Regions from separate parts of the Homo sapiens genome. Here all the other regions are linked to region 1. Evidence: promoter capture Hi-C in 16 types of primary human blood cells and fetal thymus (Javierre and others, 2016). All regions are on one chromosome and are shown on one strand. Each heading gives the region's core, a stretch centred on a gene start or on the middle of the fragment in contact. The rest is flanking DNA. Distances are from core to core; before and after follow the strand shown. Region 1 holds the start of SLC44A3 (solute carrier family 44 member 3). Region 2 overlaps ARHGAP29-AS1 (ARHGAP29 antisense RNA 1). Region 3 overlaps ABCA4 (ATP binding cassette subfamily A member 4). Region 4 overlaps ABCA4 (ATP binding cassette subfamily A member 4). Region 5 overlaps ABCA4 (ATP binding cassette subfamily A member 4). Region 6 overlaps ABCA4 (ATP binding cassette subfamily A member 4). Region 7 has its middle 4.6 kb from the start of ARHGAP29-AS1.

The links. Contacts are between HindIII fragments. The CHiCAGO score rates a contact against its expected background, and 5 or more counts as called.
Region 2: a fragment that was not itself captured here is called in contact with the fragment with the promoter of SLC44A3 in region 1 in 1 of 17 cell types (fetal thymus); the score reaches 5.0 in fetal thymus.
Region 3: a contact is called between a fragment that was not itself captured here and the fragment with the promoter of SLC44A3 in region 1, in 2 of 17 cell types (fetal thymus and total B cells). The highest score is 6.9, in fetal thymus.
Region 4: a contact is called between a fragment that was not itself captured here and the fragment with the promoter of SLC44A3 in region 1, in 3 of 17 cell types (fetal thymus, total CD4 T cells and total B cells). The highest score is 7.4, in fetal thymus.
Region 5: a fragment that was not itself captured here is called in contact with the fragment with the promoter of SLC44A3 in region 1 in 8 of 17 cell types (naive B cells, erythroblasts, monocytes and 5 more); the score reaches 10.8 in naive B cells.
Region 6: a fragment that was not itself captured here is called in contact with the fragment with the promoter of SLC44A3 in region 1 in 1 of 17 cell types (fetal thymus); the score reaches 5.2 in fetal thymus.
Region 7: a fragment that was not itself captured here is called in contact with the fragment with the promoter of SLC44A3 in region 1 in 1 of 17 cell types (fetal thymus); the score reaches 5.1 in fetal thymus.

Annotation. Positions count from the first base shown.
Region 1 is chr1:94,818,171-94,822,109 of GRCh38, reverse strand. It overlaps SLC44A3 (solute carrier family 44 member 3), which reads right to left and starts at 1,753. Exons shown (of 15, transcript NM_001114106.3): 1 at 1,632-1,753; 2 at 1,054-1,161. The coding sequence starts at 1,658. SLC44A3-AS1 (SLC44A3 antisense RNA 1) reads left to right here and starts at 1,878. Exons shown (of 6, transcript NR_160780.1): 1 at 1,878-2,154. RefSeq lists a silencer at 1,560-1,749. The HindIII fragment of the contact is 9,215 bases long and covers 707-3,939 here.
Region 2 is chr1:94,258,519-94,262,265 of GRCh38, reverse strand. All of the region lies in intron 2 of ARHGAP29-AS1 (ARHGAP29 antisense RNA 1), which reads right to left. It also overlaps a transcript of ARHGAP29 not described here. Among named protein-coding and RNA genes, the nearest start is that of ARHGAP29-AS1, 13 kb to the right of the region's middle. The HindIII fragment of the contact is 1,098 bases long and covers 1,726-2,823 here.
Region 3 is chr1:94,010,858-94,014,323 of GRCh38, reverse strand. ABCA4 (ATP binding cassette subfamily A member 4) reads left to right here. Exons shown (of 50, transcript NM_000350.3): 39 at 2,939-3,062; 40 at 3,395-3,466. Among named protein-coding and RNA genes, the nearest start is that of GCLM, 100 kb to the right of the region's middle. RefSeq lists an enhancer at 2,514-3,013. The HindIII fragment of the contact is 3,950 bases long and covers 242-3,466 here.
Region 4 is chr1:94,028,549-94,031,248 of GRCh38, reverse strand. ABCA4 (ATP binding cassette subfamily A member 4) reads left to right here. Exons shown (of 50, transcript NM_000350.3): 28 at 129-253; 29 at 723-821; 30 at 1,618-1,804. Among named protein-coding and RNA genes, the nearest start is that of ABCA4, 91 kb to the left of the region's middle. The HindIII fragment of the contact is 1,520 bases long and covers 491-2,010 here.
Region 5 is chr1:94,047,718-94,050,957 of GRCh38, reverse strand. It overlaps ABCA4 (ATP binding cassette subfamily A member 4), which reads left to right. Exons shown (of 50, transcript NM_000350.3): 18 at 2,001-2,090. Among named protein-coding and RNA genes, the nearest start is that of ABCA4, 72 kb to the left of the region's middle. The HindIII fragment of the contact is 5,773 bases long and covers 1-3,240 here.
Region 6 is chr1:94,073,826-94,077,974 of GRCh38, reverse strand. ABCA4 (ATP binding cassette subfamily A member 4) reads left to right here. Exons shown (of 50, transcript NM_000350.3): 11 at 88-285. The region is part of intron 1 of LOC124904222 (a long non-coding RNA gene); the gene reads right to left. Among named protein-coding and RNA genes, the nearest start is that of ABCA4, 45 kb to the left of the region's middle. The HindIII fragment of the contact is 406 bases long and covers 1,085-1,490 here.
Region 7 is chr1:94,241,137-94,245,310 of GRCh38, reverse strand. It overlaps a transcript of ARHGAP29 not described here. Among named protein-coding and RNA genes, the nearest start is that of ARHGAP29-AS1, 4.6 kb to the left of the region's middle. The HindIII fragment of the contact is 1,276 bases long and covers 1,697-2,972 here.

The DNA.
Region 1 (3,939 bases), core at 504-3,003:
AGCTGCTCCCTGCATTTATACAACAGCAGTCTCAGATAAAAACACCAACCATCTGCGAAGTTAAGCAGAAGGTATTGTAGGTGCACTGTCTCTCCCAGCTCCTAGGGGAGAGTTCCAACGTAAGCAACAAAAAACATCTGATTATGTGTTTCAGACCTAACCTTCCACTGTGCCTGTAACCAAGCCTGTCTATGTGAAACGGGTCATAAGTGAACAAATGCCTTTCTTACTTGGAAAGAACAAACATGATATTTTAGGGCCTATTCAGATGGAATTCTTTTCAACAAAGGTAATTACTATCTGGTAGTTATTACCCTGCTCTATAAATTAATCATTTACCATGCAGCAAATAGCATGCCTTATCCTGGCATGGATGATTTCGTGAAAGTGGCCTTTGAAAATGTCGGGTGAGACGTTTTCTGCTGTTACCTACAATTCTAAAATAAGTATAAAAGCAGCAAGATTCGGCTTCCAACAGACTCTCTCAGGATTATAACCGCATAGCCTGATGGAGTTTACCAGCAATCATACATACCTCGAAATTAGAGTGGGAAAAATCATTCCTTGTTAGCTATGGTTAACAGTGTTGGCTGCTAAACACAACATATCTCTCGCGCGCGTGTGTGTGTGATGTTCAGCTAAAGGAAATGCAGTTTATTTCTAGGCTTACCCTGGCTTTTCCTTTGTTAAAGGTGCACCAAAAGCTTGAGGAATATTTGATTTGGGGGTGTGGCAGGTGCTAAAAGAACTTCTGTTCAGTAAGTTCGGAGAGTAAAAGGAGACACATTGGCCTTACTAAATAGCAATCACATTGCAAACTGTTAATTCCCATTTCCTAATGGAGTCACCCCTTAGAACATGGCCTGTAGCAAAAAGACAGCCTTTCTAGCGAGTCTAGGACAAGAATTCTCCCGAGTACAAACTGATGTTTATTGTGGGTTAACGGCAGAAGTCTCTCACTGCAGCACCAACTACGATTTACATTTGGGACAGAGTTATTTCCAGACGTGCACACACACTCTGGCCTCTTTCCTACCAAGCACCCACACTTACCAAACCAGTCCAAAAGAGAAAGAACAGGAATAACCATGCCGTATCTGTGCATTTCCTATAAATCTGGGGTCGCCACTCCCTTTGCCTAGGGGCTCCTTCTGCAGAAACCTTCCAGAAAAAGGGAGAGTTGAGAAAAAGAAGATAAACAGGTGGACTCAACCTGGAAACCGAACCCAAATCTACTCGAAGAGGGGCCAAAGTAACCAATCTTTTTCTAAATTTTTAAAATTAATATTATTTTTTTACGTGGCCACCTGAAGCTCTTTCACACAGCCTTTGAAACACCTGCTCTGCGCGGAGCGGATGTTAAGCCCCCTGCCGCCAAGTGCTTACCTGGAGGTGCACCTGAGGACGACCCCAAGTTTGCGCCCCGCGGCCCGCGTCTCCCCCGCCTCCGCCCCAGCACTGGAGCAGGGTCCAGGTTCCTCCCCGCCAGGTGGCCCCAAGGTACTAAGCGGGGGCGGGATCCCCGAGGCGCGGGAAAGGCGGAAGCGTCCGGCAGGGAAGGTGCGTGAAGGCGGGGGACTCGACCCTTCCCCGGGGCTCCTCCCCCGAGGGCCGAGGCTGCGAGCGCTTACCAGGTACTCGGCGCCCAGGCAGTGCATCGTGCGCTCGCCGGCGGGGGCCGGTGACTGGGAGCCGCCGCCGCCTCCTGTACGCGGAGACGCAGCGCCCGCGAGCCGGGGCCGGGGCCGGGGCTGGGGCTGGGGCTGGGGCTGGAGCCGGGGCCGGGCCGGGGAGGGGCGGGCACGGTGCAGCGCCGCCTCCCGTTCGCCTCTGCGCCTGGCCCGGCGACTGCGGGCGCTGCGGTCCACTGGGTCCGCCTCTTCCCGGCATGGGTTTCTGCCCAGCTCACCCGCTGTCAGCTGGGGTCCTGCTCTGGTGGGAGGAAGAGGCTCAGACGCTTCCCTGCCCTCTCGCCTCAACCACCTCGAGGCAGCGGCTCCCAGGATGTGCACTTTGACGACTAAAGCTGAGCCGGCGCCGCCACGACCTTGGGCGGGTGGTCGGCCTCTGCCCTGAGCAGGAAGTAGAAAGTCTCAGCAGACCCTTCCTGAGGGCCGAGCAACAGTGTAGTGGCGTATTCCACATAGCAAACAGGTAAGCAGCATTTACTGTGTGCTGGATTCTGTTCTCACTGCTATTGTTATTCCTAATCTACGGAGGAGGGAAACTGAGGCACGGCCATTGGTGATGCAACTTGTTCGAGGAGACCCAGTAAGTTGTGGAGGCAGGAGTCGAACCCAGACACTCCGGGAGACCGGCGCTCTCGAGGTGGTTTACTCTGACTTCTCTCCCACCTTGCCTTAGGACAATCATTGCCTGACTTCGCAATTGAAATGGTAGTGTCCACTGAAGCGACTGGTGGCATAGTTTTCCAGGTAGTGTCAGACCAGCGCAAAAGCACTGTTGGGGTGAGGAATTTAAAAAACGAAAAACAAAAAAAACTGCAGGCCGACCTCCCCCCACCTCCTCTCAATCAAGCCTCTACCCTTCCCCCTGCCACCCTTAGGGTTGCTAGGTTAATTGCTTCCTTTAGGTGCTGCTTCTCCCTAAGGGTAGAAACCTGACTGGAGGAAAGATCTGGGTAAGTGGGAGAAACTGGGAATGATAGACAGTGGTTCTCTGGTGCCAGCGATTTCCTTCTGGGCTCACACCACCCTCCCACTGCAAACTCACTGGGCCTTCCTGGATGCATGTTTATCAGACAGAGTAGGTGAAACCCCAGGGGAACATGAATTCATAGGACAAAGAATTAGACACTGGAGGAGTGCAACTACTGTTAAAAGACCACAACTGAATAACATATGCCATCTGAAACTGATCAGTAGAGCAGATGGACCAAGATTTTTAAATAAGCATGATAAATTTATTTAAAATGAGTTATGATATTAGCAATATGAATCAGGAAAAAATATGAAACTAAAACATATTAAGCATAAAAATAATAATTAGAATGAATATTGATGCTACGTATTAGTAATGTGCAATAGTCTAAAAGATGCAGCTGACGATGAATTAGTAATTGGAAGAGCACTTTCAGCAAACCTCCAGAGGCAGTAGAAAATGTTTTAAAAAACAAGTTAGCTTATTTGTAAATTTTCTAGCTTATATCTAGGGTAAAACTAGAACAGAAAGGAAGAAATATAAAAACAGAGAAGGGGAAATATTTGAAGATATAATGGAGATAAATTTCAAGGTAGAAAAAAACCTTCAGATTGAAAAGGTTTATCTCAAGCAAAATGTTTCTATATGTAAGTATTTAAAAGCATAACTTTGAACTTATTTTCTATTAAGCCATATTGTCATTAGAATGTGAGAATGTATTAATAATAAAAATATTCTTATGAAAGATTCATTTGAATGACATTCTTGGAGGACATAATCAAGCAAGAAGAGAAACAAATTCAGGAGATGATACAATAGATATAGCATGAGAGTGGCCAAATATTTAGGCTGAATTTATTGTTGTGTTAGAAAAAAGACCAGGAACCACCCAAGTGTCCAGGAACTGGTGGGTGGCTATACATAACTGTGATGCATCTATACGATGAAATACAACTAAGCATTAAGAAGGAACAGACTTCTTACATATGCAAAAACATGGATGATCTCAAATGCATGTTAAGTGAAAAAAAGTCAGATATAATAAGCTACTCTATGATTCCATTTATGTGACATTCTGGAAAAGGCAGAAAATAGATCAATGGTTGTCAGGTGCTGGGGGTGAAGGGAATCTGGAGAAACTTTCTGAAGTGATGGAAATATTCCATTATCTTGAGAATGGTACTGATGACCCAGTGGTATCTGTTTGTCAAAATTTGTAGAACTGTACACTAGAAAAGGTGAATTTTATTGTATGTAAACTGTATTTCATTAAACCTG
Region 2 (3,747 bases), core at 1,025-3,524, 560 kb after region 1:
TCCATCCTTAGTTGATTTTTGTATATGGTATAAGGAAGGGGTCCAGTTTCAATCTTCTGCATATGGCTAGCCAGTTATCCCAGAACCATTTATTTACTAGGGAGTCCTTTCCTCATTGCTTGTTTTTGTCAGCTTGCTTTGTCAAAGATCAGATGGTTGTAGGTGTGTGGCCTTTTTTCTCAGCAATCTGTTTGTTCCATTGGTCTATGTGTCTGTTTTTGTAACAGTTCCATGCTGTTTTGGTTTCTGCAGCCCTGTAGTATAGTTTGAAGTTGGCTAGTGTGATGCCTCCAGCATTCTTCTTTTTGCTTAGGATTGCCTTGCTTATTCAGGCTCATTTTATGGTTCCATACGAAGTTTAAAATAGCTTTTTCTAGTTGTGAAGAACATTATCAGTAGTTTGATAAGAATAGCATTGAATCTATAAATCACTTTAGGCAATATGGCCTTTTTAATGATTTTGATTCTTCTTATCCATGAGCATGAGATGTTTTTCCATTTGTCTGTGTCATCTCTGATTTCTTTGAGCAGTGTTTTGTAGTTCTCCTTGTAGAGAACTTTCACCTCCCTTGTTAGCTGTATTCTTAGGTATTTTATTATTTTTGTGGCAATTGTGAATGGAATTGCGTTCCTGATTTGGTTCTCAGCTTGACTGTTGTTGGCGAATAGAAATGCTAGTAATTTTTGTATGTTGATTTTGTATCCTGAGACAGCTGAAATTATTTATCAGCTTAAGGAGCGTTCAGGTCAAGACTATGGAGTTTTCTAGGCATAGGATCATTTCAAGACTCCAAATCTTAACCTTACTTCTAAACTACAAAATCGTCTTAATTTTGTTGAGATGTAGCTACACTTGACCTGCACGCATAACACAGTAAAGCCAAATGAGACCCAAACTTGTGATAGTAAACACAAATAAGTGTTTATTACTTCATTATGTTCAATTATGGAGATGAAATTACATTAAATGAGATCAGTGTTATAATAACCTATGTGCCTTGATTTATAAAGCATGTCTGAGCTTCTGCAGCAGGTGAACTGGAAAAGGGGAAGCTACAGAGCTGAGGTAAGAAGGTCTGGCCAAGCAATAGTAAGGGACTTTCCAAGTGTTGATGTCTAAGAGGAGAGTGTACATTCAGAATCTCTGGATAGTTTCCAAAAAGTCCAATCTGATGGAATTCGGTAGTGGAGATGGTGGTTTCATGGCCTGGTTTTTTAATGTTTCAAGAACAGAGACACATTTACCTTAGTTAATGGGGGTGCAGAATTAGGAAGGTGGCATTGCAGGGATACACAGGAGGTTGTAAGGAAGTCAGGAAACACTCAACAGCTGCACAGCTATGCCTCACAGAGACCAGAACATAATTTATAAGATAGAAGCTGCTTTAGAACACAATGCAGTTTGAGTTATCCTGTGGGCCCTCAGACACCAGCATCAGCTGCCTTAATGCTCTGCCACTTTTATGATGATGCAGCTGTTCTTGTCTCTGTTTGACTATTCCTGCCACTACCAGCCAACTTCCTTCATTTTTCTTTGTCTCATGGCCTCAGCTCACTAATGGCGCCTGCTATCACATGGTTTCTTTTTCTGTGTGTCTTTCCAATCTCTCTACCTACTACCAACAGCAAGTCCCCCATACCCCTACAAAGCATTCTATTTAAACTCTCCAAGACAGAAGGTCCTATTAGTGCTATTGATTATTCTTTCCTTCATTAAGTAAAGCTTCCTTGCCAGATTACTCCATAGAACACTGACAGGCCTACAGACGAGCTGCTCTTGGACCAGATACCCAAATTTGATTGAATCAGCTGAGGATGGGATATAGGAGCTTGTGACCAGCTTTCTTCAGAGTTGCTATGGGCATTCCAAAATTGAAAGTGTAAGAAATCCCTCTGCAATGCAGAGAGTCCATCAGATTTGAGGCAGGGCCCCTCTGGGGGTAAGAGAAAGGAAGGGATCTGTCTTTAGAGAAACGAAAGCTGGTTTGGTTGTCAGAATCGTAGTCTCAAAAGGGAAACTGAGCCAGAAGCCCCTCAGATAGACAGGGCAAACATGGCAGAAAATGGGAAAAGGCTACCATATAATGCACACTCGAATGTCCATGGCTCATCCCAGGCATAACAGATTTTAGGCTTGTGATGACGTGGCAAATGGTGGTAGACATTGGTAGATGGACTTCCTAAACACAAGCAAGTCTTGCTCAAGATTAGATCAGAACTAAGCCATTTTGAATCAACACATGGAATGCCTCTGGTCCTCTACAGAAACTCCGTAGAGACTTTTGCATTATGCAGGGAGGACACTTTTCCTCTCTGAAAAGTTCATTCTTCGGCCAACAGTGAGTCAGAAAATGCTCTCTGAACTTTTGACTTGGGAGCTTTGAAATTTAAACTTCCAACACAGATTCCTGTTCCATCTTGAAAGGGCATTTTAGTATTTAAATTTTTTTCTTTATCATGTGTATTAGTTTCCTGTGGCTGCTTTAACAAACTACCACAAACTTGCATCACTTAAAACAACAGAAATGGATTCTCTCACAGTTCTGGAGGCAAGGCAGGCCCATGCTGCCTCTGTAGTCCCTAGAGATGAATCCCTCGTTGCTTCTCCCTAGTTTCTGATGGTTGCCGGCAATCCTTGGTGTTCCTCGGCTTACAGGTACATTGCTCCAATTTCTACCTCTTCCTTTATACAGGTATCTTCCCCTTGTGTCTCTGTTTTCTCTTCTTGTACGGACAACAGTCACTGGATTAAGTCCCACCCTAATCCACTATGACCTCATTAGAACTAATTATATCTGCAAAGACCCTATTTCCAAACAAGCTTACATCCTAAAGTTCTGGGAAGACATGCATTTTATGGGGACATTATTTGATCCACTACAACATGTCCAATCTTTGGTCAAATTAATACTAGAACAAAAATTCTATGCTTTTCCTAGTCTCTGTTGGATGAGGTATATTCATTACTTGTATTTCTAAAATGGATACAGGTCACAGAGATGACTGGAATTGTGAAATCTCAAATCTTTGACCAGCTGCCCATCACTGGCAGAGTTCCAAGGAATCTAGGCAAAAGGGACAGACACCTAGTAAAAGAACACTCCTTATGACTACTTGGGAATTTGGCCCTAAACCCCACTGCCTGTCCCCACCCACCCTTGTTCTAGAGATTTGGGCTGAACCACTTGGCCTGTGTTCTACATACCTGAATGAAAGCAAGAAAATATCTTCTTGCAGACTCAGAGTCAAGACTTTATGATTTTCCATGGTGACAAGAGCTCAAAAATGACTCACCCAAATGAAAAACACCACAAGGGAAAGAAAAACTTGATCTCTCTACAGTGGGAAGCAGCAGACACAGAGGATAAAGATGTGGGTTTTTTGAGTCAAGTCTGACATGAGTTCAGATCCCTGGTTTTGCCACTTACTAGCTGGGTGAACTTGTTCATATTAATTAGTCTCTTTAAGTCTCAATTTCCTCGTTAGAGCAATGGAGATCATAATATCTTCCTTATAGGTGATTGTGAAGAGTAAATAAGATAATCTATGTAAGACCTTACTACATAGGAAGCGCTAGTTATAATCATTACTAAGGCCTTGAACAACTGGCCTAAACTGCCCCTATCAGGCCTGTTGTCTCCTGGACCCTTCCCTGATTACCACTGGAACTGCCTAAAGCAGAAGGCTTTCCCCTGTGGGAGCCCCCTAAGACCCTCTCTCAACAGCCCATGAGAGCTAAGGTCTCCA
Region 3 (3,466 bases), core at 967-3,466, 810 kb after region 1:
GTCCCTCCTTCCTTCCTTTTTCATTGCTTCCTTCCTTCCTTCGTCCCTCCTTCCCTTCCTCTTTCCTTCTGCCCTCTCTCCCTTTTTCCTTTCATCCTCCCTCCATCCCTCCCTCCATCCTTCCTTCTTTCTTCCTTCTTTCCTTCCTATAAGCACCTTTTTCATTTCTGTGCTCTGAATGAAATGGTTTTCTGTGTTTATTCTGCAAGCAAAACTTGATTCTTGCAATAAACTTTAAGCTTTGCTTACTCTTTCAGAAAGGTTTTCTCAGGGACTTTGGGTGTTGGGTTTTACACACACACACATCAATACATTTGGGTAATTTCAAAATCTAAAAGGAACAAAAAGGCATACAATGAAAAAATCTCCTTCCTACCCCTGTTTCCCACTCATGCAGTTCTCTTCTCCAGAGGCAAACTCTTACTTGAGTTTCCTGTGTGCTCTGGAGACACATCAGCAGATCCCTATACGGTCTTTCTCCCGCTTTCTTATGGAAATTGTAACACTCTGACATATACTATTCCTTGGGCAAGTTAATCTTGATGAAGAGACTGGGTGTTCTCCATGCTGAATGCCTCACTTTTATGAGCTGCCAAGCCCAGTTGTCCCTTCCACCTGACCTCCCCCTGTCCAGAGACAGATGGCCAAACTGAATCATAAAAAGAGGGGGAAAAAAAGAAGGCAGTCGCTGCAGGGCTGTCTTTACTCCACACTCCACACTCCCAGTCCCCACCGCTGTGTCTGAGTCCTGGCTGTGGCTGTCCTTGGAACATTTGCCTCACCACGTGCCTGTGTCCCCAGGCGCCTCAACCTTTCCTCTCCTCATTAGCTCTTCCCAGTTCAGAGGGTGGGACCGGCCAGCACATCTGCACTGCTGCCCTGCCACACCCACCTCCACCTGCCTCTGGGCCCCACTGGGGAACACAGGACAAATCTGTGCGGAGGCCCCACCATGAACCGCCCAGACCCGTGGACCCCTGAGACTGACTCTTTCCAGATCTTGTTAGGGTTTCGTGGCTGCTAGGCAAGTAACGAAGCCTCATCTGTCCCATGAATGATAAGAAATTCAGCATGTCAGAGTCAGACTCTGGAAAGGCGGGGGGATAAGAACACAGCCCCAGCAGATGGCCAGAGCACCCAGGTGACTGAAAGTGCTGCTTTGCAGAGCTGTGTTTGCCACAGGCTCACAGCCCACTAAGTCTTAAGACAGTTTTCCTTCAGAATAATTAAATAGCCAGCTTAAAGCAACTCAGAACATTTTCCCCTCTGAGGCTGCACCCATTTAGCCAACATTTGCTAAGCACCCGCCTTCAAAAACCTGGTATTTTCATGTAAATTATCCGATACACAGCTGCTATGGAAACCCCCAGTATCCCACAGGAAGCTCCCCAGCTCCCAGCAGCTGCCGGCCCGTGTGAGATCAGGAGGTCTTTACCAGCTGAACACCACGTGCCGGGTGTGTGCTGATATAAACAAGCGTGGCCCACTCGTCCTGCCCTCCAGAGGCTCCCGTTCCAGTCGGAAAAGGACCTGCCCACGAAGTTTGCAACGATATAAGCCACAGTGTATGATCCTCCATAATACAGCGTGTGACAGAGCAGCAGAGGAGCGAGGCAGATAACATGCTGCAGGCCAGAGGCAGCGGGAAGAGCCAGGCTGCAGGGGCTGGGGGAGCCGTGGTGGAGGAAGTTCAATTTCAGCCTGTAGATTTCTATTAGCCCATTTAATAAATAATGAAGTGCCTACTCTGAGCTAATCATTGTGCAGGTATTTAGGAAGGACAAAAAAATAATTAGGACTCAGTGCCCACCCTCCAGGGGCCCACTGACTAGTAGAGAAAGTAGGCAGATTTTTAAAAAATTAATCATGGGAATGTGATAAGTGCTGGGAGAGAGGAATGGATACTTTCTCATGGGAATCTTGGAAGGCTTGTAAGGGAAGGCACTCTCTGAGCCAGCTGTCTAAAGAAGAACAGGAATCTTTAAGAAAGCAGAAGGGAAAAGAGCATTCTTTCCTGCTTGGAGCAATAGGTAACAGCCTGCACATGCCCAGGCCTAGAGGCCAAAGAGCACAGTGATTCCAGAAAGAGTGGGGAGAAAGGGTAGGCAGGGAAGGATGAGGTAATGTGGGCGCAGGTGTGGAGGCTGGAGAGGGAGGAGGTTGTGGGACTGGGAGGAGCCAGATGGAATGGACAGCAGTGGCCCAGCCAGGAGCTATGCTGGCCTCGTACGCCTCGATGTCCCTTCTATTTTCTCAGGGGAGGCTCTGCCCAACATGCCAAGTCCGACCACTTGAAAACAAGTCCCTGGCTTAACACAGACCCCAGAGAGAGTCTCCAACCCTCCTCTCCCTAGACAATGGTAGTTGCCCTGTGAGGGGCTGAAAAGCAGAGCTGGAGATGGCTCAGGGCCTGGTGTTAACAAATGCCTTGAGGGCTCCTGTTGTTTCAAAGTGAGTCTGCAGGGAGAGCTCCCTAAGTGGACAGCAGGAGGGCTGCAGCTTCTCTGCACATTCCTGCTGTCACCCCCAGAGTCACCTAGGGGAGGGGTAAGGACAGTAATGCAGGTTCCTCACAGTTAGCCTCGGTGCCCACATGGTACTGAGCATAGTAAATGTTTAGAAGATGCTGCCTGGCTAGACAAAGGGGAAGCTCCCGCCCACTAGAAACTTGCAGGGAGCCCCAGTCCTTGATTGGTCATTTAATTGATTAGCTCCTTGGCCTGGCCTTGAGGCACTGCTTGTAAGTACTTCATGACCTCCATTGCAAACCCATGATGCTCTGCTGGACAAATCCCTCCAGTGGCCAGTCTGGCTGCAAGGACTCTCTGTCTGCAGGCCTTGCCCTGTGCTGTCCTGTGAGAGCATCTGGGCCCCACCTGCTGAAGAGAGGGGGGGTGGGGTTTGCCCCGTTTCCAACAGTCCTACTTCTCTGTTTCAGACGCTGCTCAGGTTCAACGCCGTGCTGAGGAAGCTGCTCATTGTCTTCCCCCACTTCTGCCTGGGCCGGGGCCTCATTGACCTTGCACTGAGCCAGGCTGTGACAGATGTCTATGCCCGGTTTGGTGGGTGGTAGCCGAGGCCCATGGAGCATGGGCCCTGGGTCCAAAGCTGGGAGGGTTACCGGGGGGGCTCCTGCATCAGACTGTGGCAGGGGCTGGTGCTAGGAGGGGACCTTGTTGGGCTGGAGGTGTCCTGCCAGCTGGAGAGGATTAGGGTGCCTCTGTTTCCATGGCTGGGGAGCCACAGGAGGGATGGAGGGCAGCCCTTATGAGGCGGGTGTTTGGCTCTTGCTCAGTTCCCACATAAGGCCTGGTCTAGTGGGCCCTGTGCTGTGGCCAGGTCTGTGGGGTGAGCTGGGGCGGCTGAAGTGGACTCAATTCCTGTTGATGCCCAGGTGAGGAGCACTCTGCAAATCCGTTCCACTGGGACCTGATTGGGAAGAACCTGTTTGCCATGGTGGTGGAAG
Region 4 (2,700 bases), core at 1-2,500, 790 kb after region 1:
CCCTCTCCACCAGGGGCTGATTAGGAGGCTGCAGGATAAATGTTTAAAAGAATGAAGATGTGTGTGCACGCGCACGTGTGACATCTCCATGCCACAGTCATGTTTATTCCACGTCTATTCTCCCACAGATCGTGCTCCCGGCTACCTTTGTGTTTTTGGCTCTGATGCTTTCTATTGTTATCCCTCCTTTTGGCGAATACCCCGCTTTGACCCTTCACCCCTGGATATATGGGCAGCAGTACACCTTCTTCAGGTGCGCGGACTCGGGGTCACCATTCTCCTCTGTGGGTTTGGGGCACCTGGGTCACATGCTGCTTAGAAGGGCCCTGACCTTCCCACTTCACTGGGACCTTCACCAATGAGAGAGGGGAGGGGTCTTTGGGCTGCCTGCAGAAAGGAACTTAATGTATCTGCCACTGCTTGGAAAGGCGATCCTAGTGGACAGGCAGGACTGCTTGGGAAGGCCGAATGGGGAAAGGAATGCAAAGCTTAGGTGAATGGGTTGAAGCGCCATCTTTTTGAGGCATAGGTGACATGCCATCAGACCACTGCGAGTGTTCAGGCAGCCTACCGCACTCCCAGGAGAGCTAGCGCCATCCCAAGGCAGCATTCGGTGCCTCCAATACATACCTGGCACACAGCAGCTATCCAGTAAAGGCTCTGAGTTGCATGATGTTGGCACGCGCCTGCTCTGTCCCAGTCACATGTCTCACTCTGTCTAGCATGGATGAACCAGGCAGTGAGCAGTTCACGGTACTTGCAGACGTCCTCCTGAATAAGCCAGGCTTTGGCAACCGCTGCCTGAAGGAAGGGTGGCTTCCGTAAGTGCCTACGCGCCCCTGTCCTAAGAAGACTAGCTCCCCTGGGAGGACCCAACGGTGGGTTCAAGATGGCAGGCGTTGGGGAGGCCCCACTCAATCCTGCTCTGCTGGTCACTTCCATGTCTCTGACCAGCACTCCCCCAACCTCTCCTTCCACACTTGTGTGCAGGGACATTCACTACCTCCTAGGAAGCCCCCACACCACTGGACAGCTCTATATTTCTCAGCATAGAAGTTCTATGTTGAGTTGACAGATGATTCCCCATAACTTATTTGAAAGGCCTCTGAGCAGGGAGGGAGGGAAATAGGGTTATGCTATTGTGTGATTGGGCCTTGAATGGCGTGAGTGACACAGTGGCCAGTACTTTGTGATAGTTGTGAGTCTGGAGAAGGGAGTTAGCGAAGGCCATTGACATCCACCAGGAATCCTAAAAGTTCAATATAATTTTAACTTTTCTCCCTCAGTCTTTTTCAAAGCTGTCAATAAGGACCAAAACAGACTAATTTCAAATTCCTCTTCTGGTTGCTGTGTCTCTCAACAGCTAGAGCTGCTAGGAATAAAAAGGGAGACAAAACGATCCACAAGCTAGAGATGGTTATTCCCCAGCCCCACACCTAGTCAGTCACAAAACCCTAGTTTTGATATTGCTTGAGCAGAAACCAGCCTCCAAGAGAATAAGAAGAAAGGGCCTGGGTCTAAAGAGGAGGAGGAAAGGGTTGGGCACAATTTCTTATGCCTAGGGATTTGTCAGCAACTTTGAGGCTGATTATGGAATATTTTCTTGTCTTCCATGAGGGAGTACCCCTGTGGCAACTCAACACCCTGGAAGACTCCTTCTGTGTCCCCAAACATCACCCAGCTGTTCCAGAAGCAGAAATGGACACAGGTCAACCCTTCACCATCCTGCAGGTGCAGCACCAGGGAGAAGCTCACCATGCTGCCAGAGTGCCCCGAGGGTGCCGGGGGCCTCCCGCCCCCCCAGGTACCTGACCTCCAAACAACGGGGCCCCAGGTCTGCCTGCCACAGAGGGACTAGGGGAGTCCCTGGTATCTCCTGAGTCTCTCACAAACTAACATTTCAAACTGGCAGTTGAGTAGGGGACTAAACCAAACTCCCTGCACCCTCTGGGAGGGGCTCCCCACAGGGCGCTGTGGCTGCCAACTGGAGGAAGCCACTCACCAAAAGCTTCATTTTCCACCAGATACTTCCTATTTGATCTAGTAGAAAAAATGTGTTTAAGCACTAAAAAAAATTAAGTCATATGTGCTCATTATAGAAAAATTAGAAAACACAGGTAAGTCAGAAGGAAAAAAAATCATCGCTTGGATATAAACACAGATAATGTTTGGTTTGCAGCCACCCAAACAGATTATATTCCAAATATTGTCTTAAAATCTGATTTACTGCATAATTTACTAGGAACATGCATCCATGTCAATAAATAGACATCTGCATCACTTTTAATATCTGTATATTATCCCATTGTTTGAATTTCTTTTTTTTTTTTTTTTTTTTTTTTGAGACAGAGTCTCTCTCTGTCACCCAGGTTGGAGTGCAGCGGTGTGATCTCGGCTCACTGCAACCTCTGCCTCCCAGGTTCAATTCTTGTGCCTCAGCCCCCCCGAGTAGTGGGGATTACAGGCATGCACCATCATGCCCGCCTAATTTTTTTGGTAGTTTTAGTACAGATGGGGTTTTACCATGTTGGCCAGGCTGGTGTTGAACTCCTGGCCTCAAGTGATCTACCCACTTCTGCCTACCAGAGTGCTAGGATTACAAGCGTCAGCCACTGCTCCTGGCCTAAAGTTACTTTAAATTAACTGATCTCCCATTATTCGCCACTTAGGTTTTTTAGTTTTCACCATTATAAGCAATGC
Region 5 (3,240 bases), core at 42-2,541, 770 kb after region 1:
AATTCCAGGGTGAAAGCGGGGGACTCCCCTAGAGCTGAAGTACTCTCCCATCTGTTTGTTGCTCACCTACCTATTCTTTACTTTGTATTATTGGGCCTGGGCCAGGACTTATCCTGCAAGCACTGAGATGGATGTTTGTTTTCTCTGGGGGATTAGTCTTTTTTTTTCTTTTTTTCTTTTGTTTTTTGCTTTTGTTTTCACTGGGTCAAACAAACAACACTTTAACAGCTCAGGATTTTTTCATTGTATTGACTTGTCTACCTGTAAACTTGTTAATTTTTTACTATAATAAAATTATCATATAATAAATGAAAAATTTCAACACAGGGCTTGTGGGCATTTTATTTTTCTCTACAATCCCAACAGATACTCTGCCTCTTAAGAAAAAAAGAAATCATAAGGAAAATATGCTCCTTCAAAAGTGAATCACAAATATGTTTGCCAACGGAAGGCAAATATTTTTCACCTGTCTCATAGGCTGGACTGAAATGGATTTCTAAAACTCTCTAAAACCAGAAAAGAGCTGAGTGTCTCCACCCAACCTCCCTCCTTTCACAGATTAAAAAATAAAAAATGGAGCCCAGGAGACATCCAGTATCTTCCCCTATTGGTCACCTGGGACAAAATCTGGAACATGCACATGCATTGCCTGGCAGGAACTCATTCCAGTGATTAAACTCTTCAGGAGGATGTTTCCTCTTGCTATTTCATTACCTATTTGTGCAGTTTGATAGCTAGTAAAGTGATCAAAGGAACTGTGGGGCATAGATTCAAAAGTCCTTCAGGAAGCAGAAATAGAAGAACAGTACTAGAGGCAGCAGGTCCCTGACCAGCAGGCCCACTACCTGCTGCTCCAGCACACATCCTGCACATTTTCAGAGGGTGGGGGACAGAGGGGCCCTGGGTGGCTGTTGCATTGAGAAATCTCGCCCTGCTCCTGTATGTGCACTTGAGGCCGAGAGCCCTTGGATGCCTGGTGACAGTGGTTTCCTCCTGCCCCTGCCTTCCTCTCTGGCAGACTGACTGGCCCTTCTGCTCCTCTTCCCCTTCCAGGATGTCCTGATATCTTTTTAAACCAAATGCCAAGTTTGCCAAAAAGTGTCTGTTTGTGTGTGTGTGTGTGTGTGTGTTCAATGCGTGTGTTTATACCACACTTCACAATTTGTCCAGGCTTGTATTAATACCATCACCAGGCTCAACCCTGGTGTTAATTCCAAGATACTTAAATGCCCATCTAGGTGAATTTCTCAGGTAAACCATATATTCAAGCTGTAGTTTAAGCTGGCTGCCCGTCATAGCACTTTGAATAGACTTTGTTTTTGTTTTTGTTTTTTGAGACAGAGTCTCACTCTGTCGGCCAGGCTGGAGTGCAGTGGCACTATCTCGGCTCACTGCAACCTCCGCCTCCCGGGTTCAAGCGATTCTCCTGCCTCAGCCTCCTAAGTAGCTGGGATTACAGGTGAGCGCCACCCCACCCGGCTAATTTTTGTATTTTTAGTAGATACGGGGTTTCACCATGTTGGTCAGACTGGTCTCGAACTCCTGACCTCATGATACGCCTACATTGGCCTCCCAAAGTGCTGGGATTACAGGCGTGAGCCACCACATCCGGCCCCTGAATAGACTTTTACTCAAGGTTCACCATGACTTTCACATGTTTTGTATTGGAGTAAAATGTGCCAGTGGTGGGCTAAAGAAAATTAACTCATTTCAAATTCAAACCTGGTTTTCTTAATTTTTTTAAAATCACAGTTTCTGAAACTGTGGGCTCCTCATGGCACATTGAGAGGAGGAGGTGAAACTCTCCAAGTCTGAAGCTCCTGTTATAAATCTTCCTCTGGCAAAGATTGTGTGATCAGGCTTGAGTACCTCACAGTCCTAGAGCAGGTCAAAGGCTGGCTAGGAAACTCATTTGCTCCCTGTACCTCTCCCCTCCTTTCCTGCCTTTGCTCGTTCTCAGCTCCCGGTGGTAGAGTAACACTGGCTTCTGATTGGTGCAGGGTGTTCAACCAGAGAAGAAAGAGCCCTGGAAAAGACCGAGCCCCTAACAGAGGAAACGGAGGATCCAGAGCACCCAGAAGGAATACACGGTAAAACCCCGATAAAGAATACACAGCAGAGGCGAGGAAAAGGCTCTAAGCACTGCAGAGGGCCAGAGCAAAACATCTCATGGCAAGGGTGGAAAGAAGCCTAGGAAACTGACTCTCTCTGTGGACAAGTGTTAAACCAGATCCCTTCTCAGAGGTCCATCTGCATGTGTGTGGAATGAATGGTTCAGCCCAGACATTAGCGCATATTTCCTGGAGAAAGCAAATACCAACTATGTAGTGTGCCTGTGCCCTTGTTAGGCAAATCCCAAGTGAGTTGCACAAATGTGCTGACTTCCGAGGATTTAGCAAGAACAATAACTTTGGTCACTGGGACTTAAAGCGGATATGAGCTATAAGGAAAGACAAAAATAAATGCTTCTGTGTCCAGGGGGAAAGAGACTCCAGGGGAGCTGACTACACTTCACTTACGGCTTACAAATCTAGAAGGCCATTCATTGAAACCATCAGAAGCCTTTCCTGACAGTGGAAGTTACCTAATAATCCCTAAACTGACGACCCAGATTTACAAGTTTTGTTTTCCTGGCTTTTGCTGCCCTCATCTTCTCTCTTAAACTAGTTCTGTATTTCTCCCAAGGCTTTTCATTCCCTAAGCATACGCATTTCTCTGTGGCCAAAATGCTCTGGGTTTAGACAGGCAGCACAGCCCCTGGGCTCTGCCTGACAGGGCAGGAGAGGGTCTGGCCTTTATCCCTCCAGCCCACCCCAGGGGCCATTTCATAAAACTAAAGCCAGAGACCTGCAGCCCCTCCCAGAGTTAGACTGCAGTACACCATGCCTCTGGCAAGATCCTCCTCCCACAGTGGAAAGTCTAAGCCAAATCAGGAGGCTGGGGACTGGTTCCACCTCAGTTGCAGGCAAGGCCAGGAGGCACGGATAGAAGAAACAGTGGACTTTTTCCCCCTAGGGAAAGAAATGCTTAGAGCTACAGTATTAAGATGACAAATTAAGCTGTGCCATATAGGGTGAAATGAAGCAGGGATAGATGGGAGGTCAGGGAGAAGTGAGAGCACTCGGTGAGGGTCTGCACTGGAGGGGGCATGGGAGGAAGAAGGAGGGGAGTGGGGTTTGAGGGATGGTGATGAGGAAGCGTGGACTGCCCTACCCACCTATTGGAAAACCTGGGAGTTCT
Region 6 (4,149 bases), core at 38-2,537, 740 kb after region 1:
ACTAAAAATTAGAAATGGCTGAAGAACAAGACCAAAGATCCTATGGAATTTCTAAGCAGAGCAGTGACTGTATTTCTTCTTCCCAAGGATACCCTGGGGAACCCAACAGTAAAAGACTTTTTGAATAGGCAGCTTGGTGAAGAAGGTATTACTGCTGAAGCCATCCTAAACTTCCTCTACAAGGGCCCTCGGGAAAGCCAGGCTGACGACATGGCCAACTTCGACTGGAGGGACATATTTAACATCACTGATCGCACCCTCCGCCTGGTCAATCAATACCTGGAGGTAAGGGGCTGCAAGCCCCACAGTGGGCCCCTTGAAGATAGCCCCATGAGTGGGGCCAGAGCTCCCTTAGCAAGTCAAGTGGTCTTGAATTTAAGCTTTCATTTTCCCCACTGAAGAAACAAGAATCCCTACATCCCCTGTACAGTTCTCATTCTCTAACAGCTTATCCATACTTAAAACTTATCTATGCTGAAAACGGTTTCCTCTTCACATCTCCTACTTCTCATGCTGGGCACCTCCTCCTGTAGCCCCCTTTAAGCATCTGTGTCTGTCCTCAACCCTCTTCTGTCTGACATTGCTTGAGTGGCCATCTATGGCCAGTGTCCCCTCAACCCCACAGTCCATTGCTTGCTGGACACTCCTGCCCTCAAGTTCTACAAGCACATCAGCCTCAACATGTCCCCTCCAAAAACTGTATGTTCTCCTTGCCCATAGAACATATCCTTCTCCTATATTTCCTATCCTAATTAACGTCCTCAGCATTTGCCCGAATTCTCAAGTGAGGGATTTCAGGGTCATCCCTAATTTTCCTTCTTCACCCTCCACACAGTAGCTGTCACTTACTGAGTGTTACTTTATGCCAAGTACTGTGCCAACTGCTTTTACACACATATGCTTCATTTAATTCTCACAGCTCCATGAGGCTTGCACCATTATCATTGCCAATTTGCAGATGAGAAGCCAGGGCTTAAAGAGGTTAAATAAGATCCCACGCATGACCATTAAGAGGAGCGAACAGGATCCAGCTCTGGGGGTGCCTGAGTTCAGAGCCTGCCTTTCTGATTTCTCTTACCAAGCTTTGTCTCCTCTCCCTCCTAAATATCTCTCAACTCTGCCTCTTGCATTCCAGGCTCTCTGAGGACTAGAGGCCTTGTCATCTCTGCGCCAGCCCATTCCAAGGGCTTCCTTCCTGGAATCCAGGGTCCAGCCTCTGTTGGCCCAGGCATTTCTCTACACTGGCACCAGAGTTACATTCCGCACACCTGCTTACGTTGCTCTCTCACTTAAAATCTTAATGACTCGACCCCCAAATAACACAGGTCCCTTCCAAATCTGTCCTACCCCACCTTCCCAGCCCTTGCTCAACTCTGCTACCTGGCCCTTTCACGCCTACAGGCATTCCCATTCCATGACCTCTTGGGATTCTACCCTTTGCAAATGCTGTTTTCATTGCCCATTTATTAGAGCGCTTTTGGTCACAAGCTTTTTGCTTAACCAAAAAGAAAGCATTTATTGGTGGACATAAATAATGAAGTTCAGGAGGATCCAAGAGTTGGAAGCCACCATGAGACCCCTGTGTCCTTCCACCTCACTTTTCTACTCGCCTCTGCTCAGCTTCATCTCTGGCCAGGCCCTCTCCTCTGCTGATGCCCTAGCTGCTTACAGCCCTTAGCAGTCATCTATACACCAAAAATCCCTTTCCCATAGCAGAAGCAATGCTCCTAGAGAGTTTCCCTGTTGGTCTGGCTCCTGTACCCACCCCTGTGTACTCTGATTGGGAGGCCTGGGTCAGCTGCCCACCATGGGGCCATTTCTATGAGCAGGATTACTGTGAAGTGGAGGAAGATGTTTCCCCAAAAGAAGAAACACAAGGTAGAAAAGTGTATGTCCACCAATGCCTGAAATGACTGTCCCTTTCCTCATCTGCTGAGCTTCTACTCATTCATTCTTTGAGACTCAGCACTCAGCTCTTAAATGTCACTTCTGCTTTGATGGAGGTTTAGTCATTCACTCCTCTGTGCTTCCTGGCCCTCTCTTCACACCTCTCTCAGACCCCTCTCCCAGATAGATTAGAGTTGGCTGTTGACATGTCCATCTCTGGCTGGGCAGCTAAACTGGAGTTATTTAGAATCAGGGAGCACATGTCAGTCATTTTCAAATTCTCAACCTCATACTCCCAGTAAATGACTCCATCTAAGGGTGGACCACTCTTGCCCATGGGCCAGGTCTGGGTCTGTGTCATCTAGAACTGTTGGAAGGTAGGGGCTTCTGTGAGCAGTAGGAGAGGGAATAAACTCGAGGGCCCTCGGGAGCATGCCCTCTTGTCTCAGACTTGTGAGTCCTGAGGATAACAAACTAGTGAAGAAAAGCCTCGTTCTATCTGTCACCTGGTGCTCTTGAGGACTTTCTGTTGCCCTGGTGCCACCACAATTTTCCAGAGTGTGTGACCCTCGCTCTCCAAACTCTGGAAGTGGCAGCCGAGGCTCCCCAGTGGCCTTTCAGAAGGTGCCAGTCATGACAGCAGCACCAAACTGCAGGCAACTACTAAGCGATCACCAACTTGTCTGAAGATAAGAATGACCTTGAATGCATTTTATAAAACAGGATTTTTTTTTTAATTTTTAGATTTTCTTTCTTTATTTTACCTTAAGTTCTGGGATACAAGTGCAGAATGTGTAGGTTTGTTACATAGGTATATGTGTGCCATGGTGGTTTGCTGCACTTGTCAACCCATCATCTAGGTTTTAAGCCCCACATGCATTAGCTATTTGTCCTAATGCTCTCCCTCGCCTCGCCCCTACCCCACCCCAACAGGCTCCGGTGTGTGATGTTCCCCTCCCTGTGTCCATGTGTTCTCATTGTTCAGCTTCCACTTACAAGTGAGAACATGTGGTGTTTAGTTTTCTGTTCCTGTGTTAGTTTGCTGAGGATGATGGCTTCCAGCTTCTTCCATGTCCCTGCAAAGGACATGATCTCATTCCTTTTTATGGCTGCATAGTATTCTATGGTGTATATGTACCATATTTTCCTTATCCAGCCTATCACTGATGGGCATTTGGATTGGTTCCATGTCTTTGCAATTGTAAACATACATGTGCATGTATTTTTATAGTAGAATGATTTATATTCCTTTGGTTATATACCCAGTAATGGGATTGCCTGGTCAAATTGTATTTCTGGTTCTAGATCCTTGAGGAATCACACTATCTTCCACAATGGTTGAACTAATTTACATTCCCACCAACAGTGTAAAAGCCTTCCTATTTCTCAACAGCCTCACCAGCATCTATTGTTTCTTGACATTTTAATAATCACCATTCTGACTGGCATGAGATGATAGATACCCATTTGTCAGATGGGTAGATTACAAAAATTTTCTCTCATTCTGCAGGTTGCCTGTTCACGCTAATGATAGTTTCTTTTGCTGTGCAGAAGCTCTTTAGCCTAATTAGATCCATTTTTCAATTTTGGCTTTTGTTGCAATTGCTTTTGGTGTTTTAGTCATGAAGTCTTTGCCCATGCGTATGTCCTGAGTGGTATTGCCTAGGCTTTCTTCTAGTTTTCATGATTTTAGATTTTACATTTAAGTCTTTAATCCAGCTTGAGTTAATTTTTGTATAAGGTGTAAGGAAGGGATCCAGTTTAAGTTTTCTACATATGGCTAGCCAGTTTTCCCAACACCATTTATTAAATAGGGAATCCTTTCCCCATTGCTTGTGTGTGTCAGGTTTGGCAAAGATCAGGTGGTTGTAGATGTGTGGTGCTATTTCTGAAGCCTCTGTTCTGTTCCATTGGTCTATGTGTCTGTTTACAAAACAGATTCTTAAGCATCAACCCAGATCGACTGGCTCAGAATTTCCAGGGAAGAGGCCTGGTTATCTGCATGTTTACAGACCTATTAGATTTGTGGGACCTGCAGTTCCCTTGTACAGTTAGTTACTCAATTAACATCTCCCTCCTCTCATGGTGCCTCTACCTGCTAAGCCCTTATTCCCAGCCAGGCCCACCACCATCCACCCACTGCTGTTATAACATAAGCAGGACCTGTGCGAGGGGGTGTGGACGGAGGAGAGAGGCTCTGTTGCTTCATTTGTGCAGCATGGAGTTCAGTGGTTCTCACAATGTTTTTGCAAAGTATATAAA
Region 7 (4,174 bases), core at 1,085-3,584, 580 kb after region 1:
CATGAAAAAAATTGCTATGCATTTGTATACAAGTTTAGGGGTGAATATATGTTTTCATTTCTTTTGGATGCATACAAAAGGAGAATTACTGGGTTGTATGTTAAATGTACATTTCCTGTGTAAGAAACTGCCAGGCTGTTTCACAAAGTGATTGTATACCTTGTATGTAGAAGCATGTATTACAGTTACAGTTGCCCTACATCCTCACCAACACTTAGTATTTCAGTCTAGCTGAAATTAAAATTTCTTCTGACTATTCAGTGGTATCTCATAGAAGTTGAAATTTGCATTTCCCTGATACTAATGGTATTGAGCAATATTTCATGTGCTTATTGCCCAGTTGTGTATCTTCTTTTGTGCAGCATATGTTCACTTCATTACTCATTATTTTATTGGATTGTTGTTTTATTTTTATTGAATTGTAAGAGTTCCTGATATATTTGGTTACAAATTCTTTGTCAGATATTTTCTCCCAATTTGTGGCTTGTGTTTTATTTCAACACTGTCTCTCAAAGAGCAGAAGTTTTAAATTTTTTTGTTCAATTGTTTGTTGTTAGTGTATAGAAATAAAATTGATTATAGTGTATTAACTTTGTATTCTGTGACCTTGCTATATTCATTTATTAGATGTAGTAGCTTATAGGCTTCTTAAGATTTTTTTTTAAGTCCCCAACCCACCATCTCTGAGTATTTTACTTCTTTCTTTTTAAATGTGAATGCATTTTATTTCTTTCTCTTGTCTTACTGTACTGGCTAAGACCCTCAGTAACAATATTAATCCTGATCTTAAGGAGAAAACCTGTCGGTTTTTTTTGTAGATGCCCTTTATCAGATAGAAGAAATTATCTTCTATTCCTACGTTGTTGACTGTTTTAATCATGAATGGCCATGGAATTTTGTCAGATGCTTTTTCTGCATCTTTTGAGATGATCACATGGTTTTTTTCTAGTGAATGTTAAACTAAGCTTGCATTCCTTGGACAGACCCTTCTTGGGCATTATGTATTATCCTTTTTATATATTGTTGGATTTGACTTGCTAATACTGTGTTAAGAAATTTGTTTTTTGTGTGTGTTTTTGTTTTTTTTGTGTGTGGTTTTTTTTTTTGGTAATGTCTTTGTCTGGTTTTGGTATCAGGGTAATGCTGGCCTCATAGAATGAGTTGGGAAGTGTTCTTGTCTCCTGTATTTTCCAAGAGTTTGTATAGGATTATTTTATCTGGTTCAGTGAATTTTATCAGTGAAGCTCATGTAGATGTAGTTTTCTTTGTGGGAAATTTTAAATAATGAATTCAGTTATTTAATACATGTAGTGCTATTAACATTTTCTGTTTCTTGTGTCAGGGTTAGTAATCTGTGTCTTTCAAAGAATTTTTCCATTTCATCTGAGTTGTTAAGTTTATTGGCAAAGTTTTTTGTAACATTCCCTTGTATCCTTTTATCCTTGTGTCTGTAGGGTCTGTACTGATGTCGTTTCTTCCATTCATATTAGTGATTTGTGTTTTCTCTATTTCTCGATCAGCCTAGCTAGATATTTATCAATTTAATCTTTTCAAAGAACCAGCTTTTGGTTATATTGATTTTTTTCTGTTTTCTGTTTTCTAAATCACTGATTTCTGTTCTTATCATTATTTACTTCCTTCTGCTTACTTTGGGTATAATTTGCTCTTTGTTTTCTAGCTTCTTAAAGTGGAAGCTTAGATATTGACTTTAGACCCTTCTCTTTTACAATAAAGCATCTAAAACTGTGTATTTTATCTAACCATGACTTTTACTTTGTAATCTCCACATTTTGAAATGGGTTTTCATTTTCATTCAGTTCAAAATATATTAAAATTTCCCTTGTGGAAATTTGACCCATTGGTTATTTTAAAGTTATATTTTATAATTTACAAATATTTGGGGATTTCCTGACTATCTTTCTGTTACTAGTTTCAAATTTAATTTTGTTTTGATCAGAGGACATACACTGTGTGATTTCAGTCCTCTTAAGTTCATTGGGACTTCTTTTTATCCCATATATGGCCTATCTTATGAATATTCCATATACATTTGAAATGAATGCATATTCTGCTGTTTTTTGGTGGAATTTTCTGTAAATGTCTATCAGGTCAAGTTGATTGATAGTGCTATTCAAGTATTCTATGTCCTTAATGATCCTTAATGATTTTCTGTTATTCTATCAATTACTGAGAGAAGAGTGCTGAAATCTTAACTGTCATTGGGGATTTGTCTATTTTTTCCATACATTTCTCTCAGTTTTTTTCTCATACTCTGGACCTCTATTTTTGGTACAGATACCTTCAGGATTGTTGTCATTATGATGAAATGACTCACTTATCATTATGAAATGTTGCTTTTTATCCTTGGTAAAATTCTTTGATACCTATATTATAGAGCTACTTTGGCTTTCTTATGATTAATATTTGCATGGTGTGTCTTTTTCTGTTGTTTTACTTTCCATGTATCTGTGTCATTATATTTCAAGTCTGTGTTTTAATAGGAAAAATATAGTTGGGTCTTACTTTTTTACTCACTCTGAGAATCTCTGCCTTTTTATTGGGCTGTTTATATTATTTATATTTAATGTAATTATTGGTATGATTGGGTTTAAGTCTGTTACTTTGCTGTTTGTTTTTTTATTTGTTCCATTTGTTGTTTCCTTTTTCTTCTTGTCCTGCCTTTTTTTTTTTTTTGATTTTTTGAAATTCTATTTATGCCCACTATTGGCTTAATTAACTTTATCTCTGGAGATTTTAGTATATATTTTTAACTTACAGTATACCTTCAAATAGTATTACACTACTTTACCTATAATGTAAGAACCTTACTGTATACTTTCATTTCCTCCTCCTTTACGCTATTGTCATAGATTTTGCTTCTGTATATGTTATAAATGCCACAACATATTGTTACTACTTTGTTTTAAACATCAGCTTTTAAAAAAATTATAAAATGTGCCTGTTTTGAAGCTTTGTTGGGGTGTGGCTAGAGTATAGTTTTCACTAAAGCTAGGTTAGATGTACTATGAGGCATGCCCTGGGGTCTCCCTGGGGTGTTCAGTAGGTCTCTCTACTCTGGCTGATGAAAATGTGGAGTTCTTCCAGCCCTGTGGGAAACCTGGGAATCGTCCATCTATAGCTTTCTGGAAATTATTTGCCAATCCTTGTTGTGTTTTGCTGTATACATGTGCATCTTGGTGTTCAGCAAGATAATTAAGAAATTCCCTATGCAAATTTCTGGAGCTCTTTCTTTTTCTACATCCTTAGTCTCTGGTACTCTGTCCTACAGATTCTGGCAACTCCAATCTCCTGGAACCATGATCTCTGTCTCTTCAAGTTGTCAAGGGTGCTATGGTCAAGAATGTGACTTTAGGCAGAAAGTTGGGGTAATTGTGGGGCTTACCTCATTTGTTTATGATCCCATCTCTCAGAGATGACAGCCCTGAGCCCAGTGCGGTGTGTAGTTCGGTGTCTGAAAACAATATATATTTTGTCCATTTTTCTAGTTGTTTACTACAGGGAAGAGTATGTCTGTTTTTATTTATTCCTCCATTTGATTTTATATATATATATATAAATATATATTATATATAAATTATATATCATATATAATTACATATATAAATTATATATATCATATATAATTATATATATAAGATATATATATAATTATATATAAAATTACTATTTTTTGAGACGGAGTTTTGCTCTTGTTGCCCAAGCTGGAGTGCAGTGGTGTGATCTTGGCTCACTGCAACCTCTACCTCCCAGGTTCAAGCGATTCTACTGCCTTAGCCTCCCGAGTAGCTGGGATTACATGTGCACGCCACCACGCCCGGCTAATTTTTTGTATTTTTAGTAGAAATGGGGTTTCACCATATTAGCCAAGCTGGTCTCAAACTCCTGACCTCAGGTGATCCGCCCGCCTCGGCCTCCCAACGTGCTGGGATTACAGGCGTGAGCCACCGCACCTGGCTGCATTTGATATATCTTTTAAGGATAATCTAGAGATTTTTCTTTCCATCTTTTTTCCTGCAGTTTATTTGTTGAAGAAATCACGTTTATGCTATAAAATGGCCCACAGTCCAGATTTTTCTGGGTATATACTGTGGCATAATTTAACAAGTTCTTAGGTCTTATAGTTTTTTATAAAGTGGTAATTGGATATAGAACA